Regions from separate parts of the Homo sapiens genome. Here region 2 is linked to region 1. The links are contacts of gene promoters, found by promoter capture Hi-C in human tissues and cell types (Jung and others, 2019). All regions are on one chromosome and are shown on one strand. The core of a region is centred on a gene start or on the middle of the fragment in contact, and the rest is flanking DNA. Distances in the headings are between cores, read along the strand shown.

Region 1 (2,824 bases), core at 7-2,506:
CTGCTCCCCCCACCCCCAACATGCCTCTGCCTCGTGTGACTACCTCATTGTGTCCCATTTCCCACCCCCTACACCCCTTTGGACTTTCCCAAGCATGAGGCCTTGCCTCCCCAGACCCTTTGCAGCCCACTCCAGACAGGACCCCTTGGGGTGGTCTTGGGGCTTTGCCCTGCTGTTGAGGAGCTCAGAACGTCACATGGTTGCCAATGCGACCCCAGCTCCATTACATAACCCACATACACCCCACCTCGGCCTCAACACCCCGGCGGGGCTGCCCTCAGTTAAGAGAACAGCACTGCGACCTTTGGAGGAGAGGCCAAGGAAAGAGAGAGAAAAAGGTGTCAACGGAGGATGGGCAGGAAAGAAAAGGGGAGGGAGGGAGAGGTGGGCAGAGGAGGGAAGAGGCAGGGCAAGTCCCCACCCCTTGTTGGGGTGGGGGAGTAGAGGACTTCGTGACAATCAGGACTAGGACTCCCCTACCCTCTCCCAAGACAGGGTGAGCCCAGTGTGGAAGGAGCTGGGTCCCAGTAGGTAGCAACCCAAAATGCCTCTAAGACCTACTGAGAGAGGGCCCCCAACCTGTCCCACCTTGGCCTCCTGGCAGCTTTAGTCTTGTGTTTCCACCTTGAACCAGACCAGAACGCGCGTGTGCTGGGTGTCTGCAGAGAAGGGACCAGGGGTCAAGCTGGGGCTCTGCACTTCTCAGAGGGATCCCTGAGAAGTCTCTCTTACTGTGCAGGATGGGGCAGAAAGGGCTGCCTGGGAAAAGGTAGGAGGCAGGGTGAGGAGCTGGGCATCAGTGCCTGGCACACACTAGGCACTCAACAGGATTTCGCAGACGAAGCAGCTAGGGCCAGCCACCCTCACGGGCCCCCAGGACCCTCACCGCCTTCACGTCTCTCCCTAGTCCCCTGCCAAGTGCCCATCCTGCCACCTGAGGCAGACGTTAGGAGTCCTGGTTGGGCCCAATTTTCTTCCATCCAACAGGTTCTGACCCTCCAGCCTACATCTCTTCCTTCCTCGGCCTAACCTCCCCTCCACCTCCCAGACTAAGCCCAAGATAAGCCTCAGCAAGATGGGCCTGGGCAGTAGGGCAGGGAGCTGGGTGGGGGGGCCTGGGCTCCGGGTGGAGGAGCCCTGAGTGTTGGGGATGAAGGAAAGCCTGGAGGCTCCACCTTCTGCCCTTCCCTCCCTCCTCTCCCCTCCCCCCTCTCCCCCTCCTTCCTTCCCCAGCCCTCCGCAGCGGCTCAGGCTCAGTCGCTCAGTCAGTCTCGGGCTGTCCGGCCAGGGTGGTTGGTGGTAAGGATTCAGGCTCCGTCCTAACGAGGCCGTGGCCTGAGGCTCAGGGCCCCCCGCCCCTCCCTCCCAGCCCACCAGCGTCACCTCCCAGCCCCGAGCTGGACCGCACACCTTGGGACACGGTTTTCCACTTCCTAAGGACGAGCCCCAGACTGGAGGAGAGGTCCGAGGAGGTGAGTGCGCAGCCTGCTCCTCCCTGGCCCGCCCAGGCCTGGGACCCTGCTGTGAGGTGGAGAGAGGCGACACCCCGCCCTTGCCCCCCACCTGGCTCTCCTCTAAACCCCGTTGGGGCAGGCTGAGGGAAGAAGGAAAGGTGAGAGAAAAGGTGGGAAATTCCAGGGGCCGGGATTAGAGCAAAATAAAGGCTCCGTTTTTTTCTTCCTTATCATCAACAAACCTCCACCCAAAAAAGGAGGCTAAAAAAAAAGCCACCCACACCAAGAGACGGTTGGGACCAGGTGGTGGGAAGACACAGAGGCGGGACGCACCCACCTAGAGTCTGGCATGTGCGTGGGCCCCAGGGGCCAGATGGGTTTAGCTGGAGCAGGAAGGGCCGCCACCTCGGGGCTGTGCCCACGTCCTGTCTCGGGCCGCCCTCGGGGCTGCGCGCGCGGCCGCTCCATCGCGCCCTCCTTCCATCCAGGTGGGCGTTGGACTCTTTGCGAGGACCCCGGCGGCTGGCCCGGGGGAGGCGGCCGAGGCGGCGGCGGCGGCGGCCGGGGGCGACATGGCGGAGGAGCAGGACCTATCGGAGGTGGAGCTGAGCCCCGTGGGCTCGGAGGAGCCCCGCTGCCTGTCCCCGGGGAGCGCGCCCTCGCTAGGGCCCGACGGCGGCGGCGGCGGATCGGGCCTGCGAGCCAGCCCGGGGCCAGGCGAGCTGGGCAAGGTCAAGAAGGAGCAGCAGGACGGCGAGGCGGACGATGACAAGTTCCCCGTGTGCATCCGCGAGGCCGTCAGCCAGGTGCTCAGCGGCTACGACTGGACGCTGGTGCCCATGCCCGTGCGCGTCAACGGCGCCAGCAAAAGCAAGCCGCACGTCAAGCGGCCCATGAACGCCTTCATGGTGTGGGCTCAGGCAGCGCGCAGGAAGCTCGCGGACCAGTACCCGCACCTGCACAACGCTGAGCTCAGCAAGACGCTGGGCAAGCTCTGGAGGTGAGCACCCGACCGCCCCCCGGGCTCGGGCCCTCTAGCTTCGGGTGGATTCAGGGTAGCCGAGGCGGCCCGGCCTCCTGCACCTCAGAGCGGGACTGTCTGGCAGTCCTCCTTGGATAGGGCTGGAAGACCAGGTGTGGGGGCCGCGCCCGCCCTTCCATCACAAGGACCCTGGAACTCGGAACTCCAGCGGCCTAGGCCGGGTCTCCCTACGGGGCGGCGGGCAGGAAGGCGCCCCCTCGTGGTTGGAATTTTGCGGGTGGCAGACCGTGGGGCCTGGGGCTTTGGAGGGAGGGAAGGAGGCCTTCACTAACTCCTGCCCACAGATACGCACACTATGCCACCAGCTGCTGTGGTCAGGAGGATACGA
Region 2 (2,700 bases), core at 14-2,513, 1.3 Mb after region 1:
TTTCTAAAACTTTTTTTTATCATGGAATATTTCCAATACAGACAAAAGTAGAGAAAACAGTAGATGTGGAGCATTCTTGATCTGAAAATCTGAAATCCAAAATGTTCCAAAATCCAAAACTTTTTGGGCACCAACAGGACGCCACAAGTGGAAAAGTCCACACCTGACCTCATAACACATGAACTTTGTTTCATGCACAAAATTATTTTAAATATTGCATAACAACACCTTTGGGCTATGTCTATAAGGTATATATGAAACATAAATGAATTTCATGTTTTGAGATGGATCCCATCCCCAAGATACCTCATTATGATATGTAAATATTCCAAAATCCGAAAACTCTGAATTTGAAACACTTCTGGTCCCAAGCACTTTTTGTTTAAGGGATACTTGCCTGTATAATAAATCCCTATTTACCCATTGCTGAGTTTCCATAATTGCCAATTTAAGGTCAATTGTGTTTCATCTATATTTTCATCCATTTCCCCCCAGTTTTAGGTTATTTAGAAACAAATTACAGACTTTACATAGTTTTACCAGTAAATATTTCAGGAAGTATCTCTAAAGGTAAAGACTCTTCATTTTATTTTATTTATTCTTTAGAGACAGAGTCTCACTCTACTGCCCAGGCTGGAGTGCAGTGGCATGATCACAGCTCACTGCAGCCTCAAACTCCTGGGATCAAGAAATCCTCTTGCCTCAGCCTCACAAGTAGCAGGGATTAGAGGTACACGCTACCGTGCCCAGCTAATATCTTTTTTTTTTGTAATTTTTGTAGAGATGGGGTCTCATTGTATTGCCCAGGCTGGTCTTGAACTCCTGGGCTCAGGCAATCCTCCTGCTATGGCCTCCCAAACTGCTGAGATTACAGGCGTGAGCCACCACACTTGGCTGAGCGCTCTTTATTTTAAACATAACAACAATATCATTATCTCACCAAAAAATAATTAACACGTTACCATTATCACACCTTGAAATTGAACTTTTGTCTCCCTTGGCCTCTGCTATATCCCCAGGCGCTAGAATAAGGTCTAGCATATGGTAGGTGCTCAATAAATAGGTGTTGAATACAAGAGCGACTTCTCTCCTTGCTTTAAAGGCCTCTGAAGCTTCCTCCATTCAGTTAGATTTGTCTGCTATGTACACACTTTCATATTAACTTTGGTTTGAATACTATTTAATATCTTATAGTCCTGGGGGTGGGGGTTAGGAGGCACTGGGGAGGTATGAGAGCATCAACTATATTCAACAAACATCTCCTGCCCCCCTGCTGAATGTCTAGCCCCATCTCAGGCCCTGGGATGCAGGGGTGGTATAAGGCACCATTGAATGAAACCAGCTCAAAGTTCATGTAGAAGAATGCAGAGCCGGGAACAACCAGATCCTGCGAAAGAGAAGAATATGGGGGAAGAACGTGGCTTATTAGAGATCAGAACATATTAAGGCCCCTATAATCAAATCTGAATGGTGCTGGTGAGGAAGCGATACACAGATCAGTGGAACAGAACAGACAGCTCAGAACTAGATCAAAGTATTCATGAGAATTTAATATGTGGCAGAGATGGTATTTCAATTATGCTGGAAAAGGAGCAACTGTTTTATTAATCATGCCAGCACAACCAGCTAGCTTTTGTAAGAAAGTTGAAACCTCCTCTTACAATCACACACATAAATAAACCCCAGATGGATTAAAGAGTTAACAGCCCCCAACATTAAAATAATAAATATCTTGGGAGAAAATGTAGGAAATGACAAGGGTGATCTCAGAGCATTTTTAAAAACACCAAGAGAGTCATATTTTTAAAGAAAGACATATTTTACTACATAAAAATTACTTTTGTGGCAACAGATATTCACAACATTGATATAAAAACAAAAGATTTAAGCACAAAACTATTTGCAACACAGATATCAAGCAAAATGTTAATATCTATATATACAAAGAGCTGTTATAAACTGATAAGCAATGAACAAGGAGAACTGGAGTTAGGCAAAGGATAAAAATAGGCAAGACATAGTACAAATCTAAATGGCCAACAAACATACAACAATATGCACACTCACTATTGTATAGGACATTAACTGAGATTTCACTTTGCCCCTATTAGACAGGCAAAAATTAAAAATAATGCTAACACCTGTTGCTGGAATGGCTGCTGGGAAACAGTAGGAAAGCACTCATGAATTGTTGGAGAAAACGCAAAGTGTTACAGCACTTTTGGAAAGCAATCTGGCAACATTGACTAAAATAAAAAATACATAGTCTCTTCAATTGAGCAATCCCCCTCCTGGGAATCTATTCCATCAAAATAAAATCTCCAGTTAGAAGGATGTATGTACAAGGAGGTTTATGGCAGCACTGCTTATAGCAGAGGGAAAAAAAAATTGGAAATAAAGTGAACGTCTGTCAATAGAAGACTGGATGAAGAAATTATAGTAGTTCCTCACTTTGAAAAATGATGGTGCCATTAAAAGAATGAATTAGAGCTGCAGAGGCTGACTTGGAGGGATTCCCACGGGTGGTGGTGTTTGAATGAGTAAAGCAAGACACAGAAAGGGTGCCTCGTATAATCCCATTCTGTAAAAGAATGGTCCAGCTCTCTGTATGTGAGTGGCATCTGGATATGCGCAGGTGTGTTTGTGTGTGAAGACGATCTGCGTGTCTATTTTGCTTATGATTGCTTGAACACCTAGAGA

Evidence for each region. Contacts are between HindIII fragments. The study calls those that stand out against the background at their distance.
Region 2: a contact is called between a fragment that was not itself captured here and the fragment with the promoter of SOX10 in region 1, in 1 of the 25 tissues and cell types used here (lymphoblastoid cells).

The regions. Positions count from the first base shown.
Region 1 is chr22:37,982,987-37,985,810 of GRCh38, reverse strand. It overlaps SOX10 (SRY-box transcription factor 10), which reads left to right and starts at 1,256. Exons shown (of 4, transcript NM_006941.4): 1 at 1,256-1,472; 2 at 1,943-2,454. The coding sequence starts at 2,027. It also overlaps a transcript of POLR2F not described here. RefSeq lists enhancers at 1-195, 2,150-2,824. The HindIII fragment of the contact is 28,697 bases long and covers 1-2,824 here.
Region 2 is chr22:36,715,282-36,717,981 of GRCh38, reverse strand. The region is part of intron 1 of CACNG2-DT (CACNG2 divergent transcript); the gene reads right to left. Among named protein-coding and RNA genes, the nearest start is that of CACNG2-DT, 13 kb to the right of the region's middle. The HindIII fragment of the contact is 3,277 bases long and covers 1-2,700 here.